Linked DNA regions of Homo sapiens: region 2 is linked to region 1. Evidence: promoter capture Hi-C in 16 types of primary human blood cells and fetal thymus (Javierre and others, 2016). All regions are on one chromosome and are shown on one strand. Each heading gives the region's core, a stretch centred on a gene start or on the middle of the fragment in contact. The rest is flanking DNA. Distances are from core to core; before and after follow the strand shown.

Region 1 (7,813 bases), core at 2,281-4,780:
TGGGTATTTGGGTTGTTTCTACCTTTTGGCTATAGTGAATGGAGCTGCTATGAACATCTGCGTACATTTTTTTGTATGAATGTATGGTTTCATTTCTCCTGGGAATATACTTAGGAGGGGAATTGCTGGGTCATGTGGTAACTGTTTAATTGTTTCTTTTAAAAAAATTTAAATAAACCATGGCTATATTAAAGCTTTTTCTATGGAGATGGGAATGAGCTGCAAGAGAGAGAGTGGACAGCTGAAGCCTCAAAGGCCTTGAGCAAGAGAAAAGGGATAAGATCCAACACACGAGTGGAGGTATGAGGCAATAAGAGGAGAGACACCCTTCCTCCTCTGTAGCAGAAGGAAATAGATGGTGCACATGGAGATTAGTTGGTGTTGGCAAAAAGAAGAGGAAGTATAGTCAGCCCTCCATATCCACGAGTTCCGCATTCATAGAATCAACCAACTGTGGATGAAAAATTCTCAGAAAAATAATACAACAGTAAAAAGTAATCGAAATTTTTTAAAAATATAGCATAACGACTATTTACATAGCACTTACATTCTATCAAGTATTATAAGTAATCTAGAGATGATTTAAAGTACATAGGAGAATGTATGTAAGTAATATGCAAATACCACATACATCATTTTATATCAGGGACTTGAGCATCTGTGGATTTTGGTATCCTTGGGGGTCTTGGAAGCAATACCCCATGGATAAGGAGAGACAACTATGTATGTCCAAGGGCCTCCATCAATTCCGTGAAGCATGAGCAAGGGCGGAGGAACGGGAGCAGGGATTTGCCAGGGAAAAGTAGTAGTCTCCAGAAACTGAAGCCTAGAGAGAGATGTGGCCAGACCGCTGGGGCTCATGATCAAGAATGAAAGTGAAACCAGTCAGTTCCCTTGTGAGATTCTTTCCCACTAATCAGAAGCAGAAAATGTCATCAGGACTGGAGTTGGGCCAGGCAAGTTCAGAGAAAGGAGAAAAAAAAAGCTGAGATAACAGCAAGGGACGGATTATAATGATGGGCCATGGAATCTGGGCTAGCTGAGGTGACAAAGGCAGGCAGGAGGACAGAGGGTGCTGGGTATTCAGGAAGCAGTGGAAGCCTCAAAGAGGCGGAAGTAGTATGGGGCACAGGGTTGGGGGCAGGGGTGCATGAATAAGTGTGCCAAAGGCCAGCAGGATGTTAGACACTGAGACTTTCTGTGCCAAGGTCCAGGGTGTGGGCATGCAAGCCGGAGGCTGAGGGGGAGTGAAGCAGAGGATGCTGGAATCAGGAGCCCAGAAACTGAGAGGATGGGGTTGGACTAGAAGGTCTGTAGGTGACAGCAACCAAGAGGAGCAAAGAGTGGTATAAGGAGGTAGTACAGGCTACAAGAGGATTCCAATGGTGTGAAAGCAGCAACGCAGACCAAACAGATGAGGGACAGGCATTGTAAAGGGCAGAGTTTTCTTTCTTTCTGTTTTTTTTCTCTTTTCTAGGTAGAAGTAGAAGTCAGCAACTCTATGGCTGCAGTGGAAAAAAATGGGGAAGATGGTGTAGGTGTGGTGGGTTTACCGGCTCGTGATACCCAAAAGTCTGGGGACCCCTGATACAGTTCAATTTTTTAAGACAGGGTCTTGCTCTGTCACCCAGGCTGGAATGCAGTGGTGTGATCACGGCTCACTGCAGCCTCGACTTCCCAGGCTCCAGTGATCCTCTCACCTCAGCCTCCTGAGTAGCTGGGACTACAGGCATGCACCACCACACCCAGCTAATTTTTGTATTTTTTTGTAGAGACGGGGTTTTGCCATGTTATCCAGGGTGGTCTTGAACTCCTGAGCTCAAGCCATCCTCCCACCTTGGCCTCCCAAAGTGCTGGGATTACAGGCATGAGCCACCGCGCCCGGCCCCAATTCCTTTCATTTTTTTTTTTTTTTTTTTTTTTTTTTTTTTTTTTTTTTTTTTTTGAGACGGAGTCTCGTTCTGTCGCCCAGGCGGGAGTGCAGTGGCGCGATCTCCGCTCACTGCAAGCTCCGCCTCCCGGGTTCACGCCATTCTCCTGCCTCAGCCTCCCGAGTAGCTGGGACTACAGGCGCCCGCCACTGCGCCCGGCTAATTTTTTTGTATTTTTAGTAGAGACGGGGTTTCACCGTGGTCTCGATCTCCTGACCTCATGATCCGCCCGCCTCGGCCTCCCAAAGTGCTGGGATTACAGGCGTGAGCCACTGCGCCCGGCCGTCCTTTCATTTTTGAGATTGGGGAGCACAAGCTGGCCCAGTGTCACACCACGGCAGCTGATCCAGGACTCAGATCATCTGCTTCCCAGGCACTGCTCCTTTCCAGTGCCCACCCTGTGCCTGCTGATAACTACTGGCATGTAGACTGACTGCTAAAGTCAATTTGTGTTAGGAAGCCACTTCTGGCTGTCCCTCTCCGTCCCTTACTGGGCAAAAAAATTTCCTACTCGATCTACTTAGTAAGTGACATTGCCAAGATCTGAAGACAGATCCGGCTGCCTACCCCATTCCCAGCTACCCAAAGTGCCTTTAACTGGGCACTTAAGGTGCTATTTTAGCCCTAACTTCCCTTGGCTTACTCTGTCATCCTTACGGCATCCTATAGCCAAAAAAGAGCTGATGAGCTGTTCAGCGAGCCTTACCCTCAAACAGGCCACACAAGAGTCTCCCTCCCTCCCTGCCTGTGCTCATGATGCTCGCTCTGCATCTTGCCCCAGTATCTCTTGTAGAACTCTTTCCTGTAACTTTCCAAGCAGGGGTAACAAACTCAAATGCCCTCAGGAAGCAGACGGGTAGAAGAAAGCTTCTACTTCACTAAGCTGGGTTGGGTCCCGCATACCACCCCTGAACCGCCTAGACCCTTGATCAATCTCTCTCTCTGCATCTGTTTATGAGGCCCCGGCGACCACAAGACCAGATAGCCACCCCGAGTGCTGGGTGACCCGCCGCTTCCTCCTTCCGTCCCCGCCTCAGGCGCTTACCTTGGCCACCTCCCAGGCGTCCACGGGCCAGCGGCCCGGCCGGCAGTTTCCCCAGTGCACATCTCCATTTCTGTTGACATGATGTCTCAAAATCTCCCTTTTCCATTCAGCGCACACCTGACACTGAGGCTGAAACTACAGGGGGCGGCGGTGAGGAGGGGCCCAGGAGGGAGGGACGTCGCGGTGGGCCCCGCATCGCGGAGGGAACAGGACACTTGCGCTCTGGGTCTGGGACAGGAACGGGGATGAGGAGGGGTGGGGTGGGGGCGGTGGTCAAGGCCCCGAGCCAGGTGCTCACCTGGCGGGCGCGAGGGCTGCACCGTGAGCCGCCGCGGCAGACGGCGCGGGGCCCCAGGCCGGGGGCTGCGGCGAGTAGGCCGCGGTGGAAGGAGAGCACCTCGCGGCCGACGAAACCCTGCAGGCAGCTGCGCAGCAGTAACAGGCAGTGGCCCGCCTTCACCCAGTTCTTGTACTCGGCGCAGTTGAGGCGCGCCGCTAGCTCCGACAGCACCATGTCTCCCACTTGGAACCAGGAGGTTGCGGGGCGTGGCGGACGGCAGTGCGCAGGCGCGGAGCCTGGGAAGTACCCGAGGCAGCGGCGCCTGCGCCGGCGGCAGCGACGCCTGCGCCTGCGCGGCGCGGTGCCACCGATCCCGGGGCGGGGCATCTTGACTTCCGGGGCACGTCGGCTCCACCCCACTTGGGTGACGTCTGACGTCTGACGTCTAACAACTTTGGTGCTTGGGGAAGCAGTTAACTATTTGAAACCCTTAGGCCCTCTTCGTCCCCCAAACAGAGACCCTGTCAGCATCCGATTCGACTCCCTCTCCTAATGTAGGGCACTTCTGTTTTAACTTTTTTTTATTGTCCAGATGTACAAGGTGCTCAGGGCACATTGCTTGAATCGTGTATGTTCTTTGCATTATACAATTCTAGAGTTACTGGTTCCTAAGCCCACAGACCAGCTGTAGCAAATTGAGGTATTAGTGAAACGTGACCGCTGGCTGCCTGCGGTGTGCCAAGCTAACCCAAAACTCAAAATCCCCCGCCACTGGACCACCCAGAAGGGGGCGTTTGCCTGTTTAGGGCAACACATCACTTGGATTCTAGAAGGCTGCACACCTGAGCCAGATAAGGGCATCCTGAAGCACCTAGCAAAGGTTAGACGATAATTATCTAGTATTCTTGATTATATGATAATTAGTGCTCCTTGCACATGGAAGTCTGATTTAAGTTCCAAAGAAGTGCCACAAAGGTCAGAAGGCACTGGGATTGTCAACTCCAAGTGACAAGTCAGGTCAGTTTTAGTTGTTTTTAATGAGCTTTCTGAGCTTGGAAAACATGTCAAAATTGTGTGTAGTTAAAAGCCTCTGAGGAAAGAGTCTAAACATTAAACCTTCCCGACTGTGGTTCACAGCAAAAATGTCCAGTGTTTAGGAGCACTAGCTCAGACTCAAACTGCCCCTTCTTAGCAGTTTGATCTTAAGCAACCTTAATTTGATCTCAGGCAAATTACATTTCTCTGGGCCTCCATTTACTCATTTTTAAGAAGAGGATATCAATAACCTACCACATTGGGTTGTTGTGAGGATTAAATACACATTGAAATATTAAGAAAATGCCTAGCACACAGTAAGCTCTCAGTAAATACTTGCTATTATTTTATATTGACCTAAATATGCCCTTTCATCAATCAGTTATATTCTTGGGCAAGGTATTTTAACAAATCACTGGCCACTTGGAAGTGGAGGCAACTTGCAGAAAATTGTGAGCATACCATGGAGTTCCTGGAGTTGTGCAGCACAGTGCTGGCTGGCCTCTGCTAACTTTGTCTTAATAACCTCAATGCTAAATCCATCCTAAGTAAATTTAAATCACATCCTTAGACACACTGTCCATTCTCAAACCGAATGAAAAAAAAATTCCACAAGAAACAATGAAATACACATTAACATTTTCCCTCTATGTCCCTTGAATGTAAGTTCTCTTAAAATTTTCTGTATACTGATTTTATATCAAGAACACTTGGATGATAAATAAACATTAAGGTAAAATGTAATAGGCACTTCTTTTGGGGGGAAAAACTATGAAAGGAACAACTTTTTATATTGAAATTGCATCAGAATCCAGGGTAGCAAAGTTATAACTTCTTGAAGTTATCAAATTAACCACAGTCCAAAGAATGGCTGTTAGTATCCTTTGGCTGAACAGATTACTGTGTTAATTAGAACACAGTTATTAGTGGTTCTTAAATTCAAAGTCATATAAATTTTAGTTTATGCTTGCACTTAACTCACTCAGTTAATTTTCAAACATAAGGTTCGACTCCTGTTATTAGCGACTTGACACGTTCTGCTGAAGCTCTCACTTTTCTTCTAATTCTGAAAGTACTTTTATACATTCTGAAATGGCATTTCAGCAGATGGAAAAATGAAGGTGGCAAATCAGGACCAATTTCTTATTTCAAGGTTAAATTAATACTAAACCAGACTATTAATGAAAACATCTTCATCAAAATTAACTAGAGAGTTGGTAGTTCTCTGAAACTTTGTATAAATTTTATTTATTACTGTAAATACTAAAATCACATTGAAAACACCTTAAAGTTAAGTCCCAACCCGATTATTAGAGAAAATCACTTGGGCATCCAGTCCCCTTGATCGAACCTGGGTAACAAAAGAGGCAAAAGACATGATTTGTGATGAAACTTACTATTCAAATGCTAAATGTTTTCAAGCTTTAATAAGGTATATATCAATTCCAAGTACCAAGCATAATATAAAAATTCAAATTCATGGGTTTACTCTTAATAAGCATCAAAAGCAAATTTTGCGCACTGAATCCTATCTTACTCTTGATTGGCACAATGCATTCAGAGATGAGTTATAATTAGGAAAAAAGAGTGTCCACTGAATGCATCATGTGTAAAAATGCAATTAACATTTCAAAACCACATTAAAAGGGAAAATACCTAAAAAGTTAACTCTTAATAAAATTATTTGAAACAATATTATCCTGCAGATAAAAATACATTTCTTGTATATACATGTAGATTTCTACATGAAAGAAAAGATTCAGCTCCAAATAGAAAAGGGCTGACCCTTGATAAAGACATCTTAGATTGCCAAACTGATGTGATTACCACTGTAAGAACTAAAAACAGAAGGATAAAAAGATTAAGTTAAAGGAAGGATAAAAGTTTAGTCAACTGCTCCTGAACAGTGGCAGAGTTGGGTGAGAAGTGGGAGATGAAGGCAGAAATAAGACAAAGAAGAAAGGCAAAGAAGGCTTCAACTCTGATTGAAAATGAGTGGAGAATCAAACAAAGTTGAGAACAGATATGATATAGGTACAGTGAGATACTTGAAACTAGAATTTGATAGTTGATAGTTATAGAAGCTCAATTAAATCATCTTGAAGTGGAATTAGACAAAGCATCTACATTTTAATGGAGAACCAGTATTACAGTGACCAGGTAACTCGGCATGGTATTATCACTTAAAAATTTTTCCTAAATACCATGAAGTCGGTAGAAGACCTTTGCATCAGACCATGTTCTTTGAAGCTTAAAAAAGTCCCTGACTGACTAGGAAAGACAGCACAGTGCTCCAAAAAGAAACCCTGCAGAGATGTATTAATACCAAAAACTCCATTTGACCCTGGACAGGCCCAGGATTCGGGATTCTTCACAATGAGGGGAATGGACCAGGTTTCTTCCAAGCAAAACATTCTATCGTTTTGTTGACAATGAATTAAATTGAAATTGTTTAGAACAATCCCAATTTTGGTGGGGAAGGAAAGGAGGATAAGTTAAGCAAGATAAAGAAAGCTCACAGAAACTTCATGCAGAGGTACAGCATTAAAGTTCTTTGTTTCCTAATTAATGTTGTATGCAGAAGTATTCTGTAAACTAAATTTTCCTGACAGAAAAGTTCCCACATCCTCAACAGATGAGAATGATTGCATTATTTGGGATCCTTGATCAATACGAACCACATACTGTCCCTTCTCAAAGACTAAGTTCCTTATTTTTCACCCAAATCCTATATATTGAAAGACAACCAAGGTGCTAAATGTTAACCACTAGTCAAGTTAGGAATGTCTGAAGAAAATATATTAACCTTGACATAAAGAAGATGTTTTTGGTCAAATTTCAGACATGTATTATTATAAATTAATAACTGGCTCCATCCACCAGGTTAAAGATGAAGGGAGGGCCTAAGATGTCTCTAGAGTTTATATACACACAAGTGAGTGTCACTGTTTTGTTTTGTTTTTGACCTAGTTTTATTAAATATTGCTTCCTTGGGGTGTGTTTATAACAACTCCCAGAACATTTCATGTAAGGATTCAAAGCGGTCATATTAAAATACAGCTTCAATATAAAGTTTATCACAGTTTTACAGTATTCAAAAATGACAGACCTGCCTTAAAAAACAAAACAAAAACCAAAAAAGGACTATTACACCCAAAACATAAGAAAACAATTAAATAAACAAGTTTGGCATTTTCATAACTTTATAGTATAAAACAGAATATTAAATTTATTACTGGCAAACGGACACTGATTTATTTCCTTTGAAATGTGTCCCATTTAAACACACTATACAAGTTCATTATACAAAAGATGGATGATCATTTTGATGAAAGAAGTGCACCCTGAAAATTTTTGCCAGTTTAGAATATTTAGCTCTTAAAGTTTAAAAAAAAAGTCCTTTTCCTTTTTTAAACTGAAGGCTGAATTCAGATTTTTTTTGTTGTCTCATCTGTCAGCCTTCCTGGTTTAAAAACAATAGTGTCTATGGACGCCCACCAGGGGGCAGTGTAAGATTAGCCA
Region 2 (7,813 bases), core at 3,026-5,525, 560 kb after region 1:
TCTGTTTTTAAATGTGCAGTTGTCCTATTAAATACATTTACATTGTTGTACACCATCACCACCACCCATCTCCAAAACTCTTCATATTGCAAAACTCAAACTGTAGTCATTAAGCTACTCCCCATTCTCCCTCCCCACAGCCTCTGGCAACTACTATTCTTTTTGTCTCTATGATTGACTACTCTACATACCTCATATAAGTGATTATATAAGTGAAATCATACAGTGTTTGCCTTTGCATAGCTGGCTTATTTCATTTTAAAGTCTAAGTAATATTCCATTATATGTATATACCACATTTTCCTTATCCATTCATTTGTCGATGGACATTTGGGTTGCTTCCCCATTTGAGCTATTGTGAATAAGGCTGCCATGAACATGGATATACAAATAGCTGTTTGAGGTCCTGCTTTCAATATTTCCAGGCATATGCTCAGAAGTGGAAGTACTAGATCATTTGGTGATGCTATTTTTATTTTATTATTTATTATTTTTTTCAGACAGAGTCTCACTCTGTCACACAGGCTGGAGTGCAGTGGTGCTATCTCAGCTCACTGCAACCTCTGCCTCCTGGGTTCAAGCGATTCTCCTGCCTCAGCCTCCCGAGTAGCTGGGACTACAGGCACGCACCACCATACCCCGCTAATTTTTGTATTTTTAGTAGAGATGGGATTTCACCATATTGGCCAGGCTGGTCTCGAACTCCTGATTTCAGGTGATCCACCCACCTTGGCCTCCCAAAGTGCTGGGATTATAGGCATGAGCCACCATATGCGGCCAAATTTTTTGAGGAACTGTTTTCTAGAGTGACTGCACCATTTTACATTCCTACCAGCATTGCACAAGAGCTCCAATTTCTCCATATCCTTGCCAACACTTGTTATACTCACTCGTTCTGGTAGTTGACACCCTAATTGAGTGTGAGGTAGTATCTCATGGTTTTGATTTGCATTTACCAAATGGTTAACGATTTTGAGCATCTTTAGCTGTGCTTATTATTGGCCACTTGTTGATCTTCTTTGTCTATTTTTAAATTGAGTTGTGTTGTTGAGTTTTAAGAGTTCTCTGTATGTTCTAGATATTAACTCCATATCAGATATGTGATTTGCAGATACTTTCTTTTGTTGCCTGTACCTCTGATGTCATATCCAAGAAATCACTGCCAAATCCAGTGTCTTGAAGCTTTTGCCCTATGTTTTTTTTTTTTTTTTAACAGTTCTGTGGTTTTAGCTCTTACATTTAGGATTTTGATCCATTTTGAGTTAATTTTTGTATGTAGTGTTTCATAAGGGCTCAACTTTATTCTTTTGCATGTGGATTATCCAGTTTACCCAGCACCATTTGTGGAAGAGTACTAGTCATGCACCACATAACAACGTTTCAGACAATTACAGACCATATATATGACAGTAGTCCAATGAGATTATAATGTCGTATTTTTACTGTACCTTTTCTATTTTTAGATGCACAGATTCACCGTTGGTTTGCAGTTGTCTACAGTATGTAGTACAGTAACATGCTGTACAAGTTTACAACCTAGGAGCAATTGGCTATACCATCTAGGTTTATAGGTACACTATGATGTTCACATGACAAAATACCTAATGATGCATTTCTCAGAATTTATCCCTGTCATTAAGCAAAGAATGACTATACTGATATAGGTATATTTTATTGACAGATCTGAGCATTTTATATACAACAGCTACACAAAGGATATATTACCCCCATTCACACATAAAGAAACTTGAAGCCTAGAAAGTTTAAGTAGTTTTTACTTGCTCAAAGTTACTTGGTTTATAAGTGGTAGAGCCTGCATTTATGTCTAGTTCAGTCTAAATTACTATGCTAATGCTACACTATATTATCTATCTTTCTTACACATGGTCAGGGTTATTTGGTTATGATAACTAATATGTGAAATGGTGGGGATAAACACTAAATAACTAAAAATTTATAAATTGAAAAGTGCTTTGGAAATGAGCATAATAGGAATACAAATCATTTGTTCAATAACTGCTTGGCATTTGTCTCAACGTATTTTATTATACTTTAGCTCATTGGTGACATTTTTTGGTTTCTAGAGCAATGTTGATCCCAGGGATGATGTATTTGGATATCCTCAACAATTTGAAGATAAACCAGCATTAAGTAAAACTGAAGATAGAAAAGAGTACAACATTGGTGTCCTAAGACACCTTCAGGTCATCTTTGGTCATTTAGCTGCTTCTCGACTGCAATACTATGTGCCCAGAGGATTTTGGAAACAGTTCAGGTAAACTATGGATGGACAGTAATAGAGATACTTCTTAAAATGAACATCTCAATACACTAACATTAAACCTCTAAAAGACATGTTGGAAGGCATCTTTTTTTAAGCACTGGTAATATTCAAACTGTCCTTAATTGGGTGGGTTTTTTTTTTTTTTTTTAGGTCCCCTTAGGAAGAAGTAGAAACTGCCATAGTAAGTAAGGGCAACATCCTTTAGTCTCTTAACCATATTATTAACTTTTTATTAGGAAAACATCTAATAAATACAGAAGTAGAAAAAATAGTATGAACCCCTGTATACTTGTCACCCAACTTCAGTAGTAGTCAACTTGTGGCCAGCCTCATTTAATCTATATTCTTAACCTATTTTTTTTTTCTTTTTTTCTTTTTCTTTTTCTTTTTTTCTTTTTTTTTTTTGAGATGGAGTTTTGCTCTTGTTGCCCAGGCTGGAGTGCAGTGGTGTGATCTTGGCTCACTGCAACATCCGCCTCCCAGATTCAAGTGATTCTCCTGCCTCAGCCTCCCAAGTAGCTGGGATTACAGGCACCCACCACCACGCCTAGCTGATTTTTTGTATTTTTAGTGGAGACGGGGTTTTACCATGTTGGCCCAGACTGGTCTCGAACTCCTGACCTCAGGTGATTCCCATCTCAGCCTCCCAAAGTGCTGGGATTACAGGCGTGAGCCACTGTGCCCGGCCCCTACCTATTTCTTTCTAGATTGTTTTGAAGCAAATCTTAGTTCCATCTGTAAATACTTAAGTATGTGTCTGTAGTGTCTGTCTCAAAACATGATCATGATACCATTATGTTTTTTTAAAATTGCTTAATATCAAATATCTCTGTCAGTGTTTGAATTTACCGAGTTATCTCATAACTGGTTTTTACTGATATTTTTTAAAAATAAGATTCAGTTGAGGTCCATTTACCACAAATGGTTGGTAATGATCTTGATTATTCATCTGTTTCTTTTTTCCCTTTACAATTATGGGGGAATCGGAGGACAAATAGTTTAGCATGTAAATTTTCCCACAGTCTGAATTTTGTTGATGGAATCCCTGTGGTCGTTTATTATTTTCTGTTTTTCTTGGTCACCTGCATCTTCTATAAACACCTTATGAGATCTAGAGGCTTGATCAGATTGTGGTATTATTTTTCTTTTTGTGGAATGGATAGGCAACGCTACTTCATAGGGGATAATGTTTATCTCCATGAGGAGTGACATTATAATGTCTGTCTTCTTATGATGTTAACAGCAATTTTTTATTATTATTATTATATATATACAATTTTTTTTTTTCCCCTGAGATGGAGTCTTTGCTCTGTCGCCCAGGCTAGAGTACAGTGGCGTGATCTCAGCTCACTGCAACCTCCGCCTCCTGGGTTCAAGCAATTCTGCCTCAGCCTCCTGAGTAGCTAGGGTTAACAGGGGTTACAGGCGTGGGCCAACCATGCCCGGCCAAGTTTTGTATTTTTAGTAGAGACGGGGTTTCACCATGTTGGCCAGTCTGGTCTCGAACTCCTGACCTCAGGTGATCTGCCTGCCTCCCAAAGTGCTGGATTATAGGCATGAGCTACTGCTCCCTGGCCTTTTTTTTTTTTTTTTTTTTTTTTTTGGAGATAGAGTCTTGCTCTGTTGCCCAGGCTGAAGTGCAATGGCTCGATCTCAGCTCACTGCAACCTCTGCCTCCCAGGTTCAAGCAATTCTTCAGCCTCAGCCTCTCAAGTAGCTAGGACGACAGGCCCACCACACCCCGCTAATTTTTTGTAGTTTTAGTAGAGATAGGGTTTCGCCGTGTTGGCCAGGCTGGTCTCAAATTCCTGACGTCAGGTGATCCACCCGCCTCGGCCTCCCAAAGTGCTGGGATTACAGGCGTGAGCCACTGCACCTGGCCAATTATCATTATCTTAATACAGTATTTCTTCAGGGTTATAAAATAACAATATTTTATTTTTTCATTTAATAGCTAGAAAAGATCTATAAAGGGAAAATTGCCCTCACCATTTTCTTTTTAAGTTAGAAAACTCAGATTACATTTTTATCTTGTTTCCTTTGACTTTAAGTCAGTACTACGTCATGCACTGTGCTAAAATAACTACAGTACAACCACGTAACTCTTACTGTGTATGAAAAGGGGTATAATTCTTTATAGCAGTGAGGTTTGGTTTGTTTTGTTTTGTAAGTAATCCTCCTTGGAATCCCTTCAAGGTGCTTCCCGGCCAGCTGAGAGGAGCGGGGAACGAAGGGTCACCTGATACTCTGATCCGCCTTCCCTTCTTCTGACAAAGCAGTATAAATTTCTTTTCCTCCCCTAACTAGGCCCTCTACTTACTCTGTACTAGTGTCTTGCGTGGACCACCCTCCCTCCCATCTCTCATTTTGCTTTTAGTCCCGTCACCCAGCATACCATTCTCCCTCCTCTCTGACTATTTCAGTTCTGTCTTCTTTCCCTAGGTTATTCCAATTCCATCTCTGCCTTAAGGCTATTTTAGCATTTCTGTTTATGCTCTTCCAAACTGAAGAACACAAACAGAGGCTTATACTGGGTTTTTTTTTTTTTTGAGACAGAGTCTCACTCTGTGGCCCAGGCTAGAGTGCAGTGGTGTGATCTCGGCTCACGGTAACCTCTGCCCGCTGGGTTCAAGCAATTCTCCTGTCTTGGTAGCTGGGATTACAGGCGCCTGCCACCATGCCCAGCTAATTTTTGTATTTTTAGTAGAGACTGGGTTTCACCATATTCATCAGGCTGGTCTTGAACTCCTGACTTCAGGTGATCCACCCGCCTCAGCCTCCCAAAGTGCTGGGATTACAGGCGAGAGCCACTGCGCCCAGCTGAGGCTTACACTTTTTAAACTTTCGTCTTGTCATTCAGTTACAATTTTTTCTCTTGTAATGCCTTTGCTTTTTTGACTTTTCAGTTACTCGCTGTGCTAGTGGAGCTCGGTTTGTATAGACTAGCACTTTGGATTATCCACACTTTAGACACATAATCTACTCTTGACACAAGCGGGTTAGTTAACTACACTTCCTCACCCCACTCTTTTATTTTGAAAAGTTTCAAACCTACAGAAAAGATGAAGAAGAGGTATAATTATCACCTTTATGTTATATTCTTTATGCGGTTTTACTAATTAACATTTTGCCATATTTGCTTATCTTGCCATATGTGTGCTTGGTTTTTGGTTTATTTTTTTTTTAAGTTTTGTTTGTTTGTTTGTTTGTTTTTTGTTTTTTTGAGATGGAGTCTCGCTCTGTCGCCCAGGCTGGAGTGCAGTGGCGTGATCTCGGCTCACTGCAAGCTCCCCTTCCTGGGTTCACACCATTCTCCTGCCTCAGCCTCCCGAGTAGCTGGGACTACAGGCGCCTGCCACCAATGCCCAGCTAATTTTTTGTATTTTTAGTAGAGACAGAGTTTCATTGTGTTAGCCAGGGTGGTCTCGAACTCCTGACCTCGTGATCCACCCGGCTCGGCCTCCCAAAATGCTAGGATTACAGGCGTGAGCCACCGCGCCCGGCCTTTTTTCTTAAGTTGATAGTGAAGTTGCAAACAGGACGCTTCACCCCTTCATACTTCAACATATATCTTATAAGAGATCATATATCAGAATAAGGCAATTTTCCTACTTATGTATGATACAGTTATATCCAAGTAATATAATAACGATTTTTAATCTCTAATATTCATCAGTATATATTCCGATTTCCCAAAAGTGGTCTTTATAACTTATCTCTCTATCCCAATCTGATACTCATGAAGGAATCACAAGGATTTGGCTGTTAGCTCTTTAGTTGCCTTTTATGTAAAATAATCTCCCTAACTTGTGACTTGTATCGCACTGAAATTTTTAAAGAATCCAGGCCAGTTGTCTTGCAGAATGTGTTTTTTGATTTGTGTGATTGTTTCCTGATGATTAGCTTTATGTTAAATGTTGAGGGGGTGGGGGCAATAAAACTACATAATTGATGTTTTGTGTTTCTCACTGCACTGTATTGGGAGGCATGTGTTATCCACTTAATTATTAAGTGATATTAATTTTGATTTCTTGGTGTCTTAACAGATCTCTCCTTTATAAAGGGTACCTTTTCCCTTTTGAAATTAGTTGATTACATGTTTGAAAGTTTGAGGAGTTGAATATGGTTTGAAAGTAAATAGAACGGACTGGTGTAATTTCCAGTAATGAAACAAGCTGATTTTTAACAAATAATATATTTGATTTTAAACTTACTGTATACAAATTTTTACTTGTGTAAAATATAATAGAGATCAGATTATTTGCTATGTAGAAAAGGTTTTTACAAAAGTATAAACAGACAGTTCTTGCATACTTTAAAATGTCATTTCTTGCTTAGAACAAATACACTTAAATTCTCTATATACATTATTCTGTATATACAAAATCAGGTATTATTGATAGTTTCCAGCAGTGCCTGAGTTTTAGCAGTATGAGTTCTCATTTTTGTGGTATGTAGTGATGGTGTCTTTTCTTAGATTACTCAAGAGATTAACTCTAGAACAAGTTAAACCTTTCTCTCTTCACTTGGGAAAAAAATAAATTTAAGAGTAACTAGATCTGATCTTTTTACTATTTATAATCCAAAATTTAAGCAAAATGAAAGAAATAAAATAGTGATTGTAACATCCACATAAGAGTGAGATCCACCACCTCATCTTAATAGTATCTTTAATTGGATTCAAAATGCATGCATGTGTCATACCACCTGAAGCAACCATCCTTCCTGGAGCCGTACTATCCATCAATTACACCACTAGTTTTGTGGCAGTTCTTTGCCGCTAGAGTACTAGTTTTACTATGAGGCTCACTCTCTTACCCCACTACATTCTACAGGGAAAGCACATTCTTTTTTTCCTACTTTTTCCATGTAATTGAGGAATAAAATCTCGGTTTTATATACTGTTGTTTGTGGTCTTGTTGCTTTTTTTTCCCCTGAAAAATATAGTTGTACATATTGTTCTGTGAATGTTACATGTTACATGTTTTATTTCATTCATTTCTTAGGCTTTGGGGTGAGCCTGTTAATCTGCGTGAACAACACGATGCTTTAGAATTTTTTAATTCATTGGTGGATAGTTTAGATGAAGCTTTAAAAGCTTTAGGACATCCAGCTATGCTAAGTAAAGTCTTAGGAGGTTCCTTTGCTGATCAGAAGATCTGCCAAGGCTGCCCACATAGGTAAGTACTAATTACACATTGAAAGTATATGTTGTACCATGTATATACTAACAGAAATAAAATTTTTACTAGTACTTACATACAAAAGTGGAGTATATCACTGATTACTAAATACCTGAAACAGAATGATTTATATACTTTGCATACCTTACTGCTGTGGGGCTTTTTTTTGTTTTTGTCAGTTAACTTTTAGTTCCTTCTACTCTGCCTGATCTCTTAGCCATTTTATTATATTATACTCTTACAGTCTCTTTCTTCCTTTCCTTTCCTTTCCTTTCTCCTTTTTCTTTTCCTTTCTCTTTTTTTTTCTTTCTTTCTTTTTTGAAAGAGACAAGGTTTCTCTTTGTTG

Evidence for each region. The method cuts DNA at HindIII sites, captures the fragments that hold promoters and counts their contacts. A CHiCAGO score of 5 or more calls a contact.
Region 2: a contact is called between a fragment that was not itself captured here and the fragment with the promoter of CXorf38 in region 1, in 6 of 17 cell types (monocytes, naive CD8 T cells, neutrophils and 3 more). The highest score is 8.0, in monocytes.

Annotation. Positions count from the first base shown.
Region 1 is chrX:40,644,031-40,651,843 of GRCh38, forward strand. CXorf38 (chromosome X open reading frame 38) reads right to left here and starts at 3,531. Exons shown (of 7, transcript NM_144970.3): 1 at 3,275-3,531; 2 at 2,977-3,111. The coding sequence starts at 3,490. It overlaps MED14 (mediator complex subunit 14), which reads right to left. Exons shown (of 31, transcript NM_004229.4): 31 at 4,275-7,813. The coding sequence ends at 7,776. RefSeq lists silencers at 207-501, 3,162-3,311, 3,432-3,731, 3,567-3,747 and enhancers at 795-1,024, 2,712-2,911. The HindIII fragment of the contact is 2,915 bases long and covers 2,797-5,711 here.
Region 2 is chrX:41,203,219-41,211,031 of GRCh38, forward strand. It overlaps USP9X (ubiquitin specific peptidase 9 X-linked), which reads left to right. Exons shown (of 45, transcript NM_001039591.3): 32 at 2,085-2,275; 33 at 7,291-7,464. Among named protein-coding and RNA genes, the nearest start is that of LINC02601, 69 kb to the right of the region's middle. The HindIII fragment of the contact is 6,191 bases long and covers 1,181-7,371 here.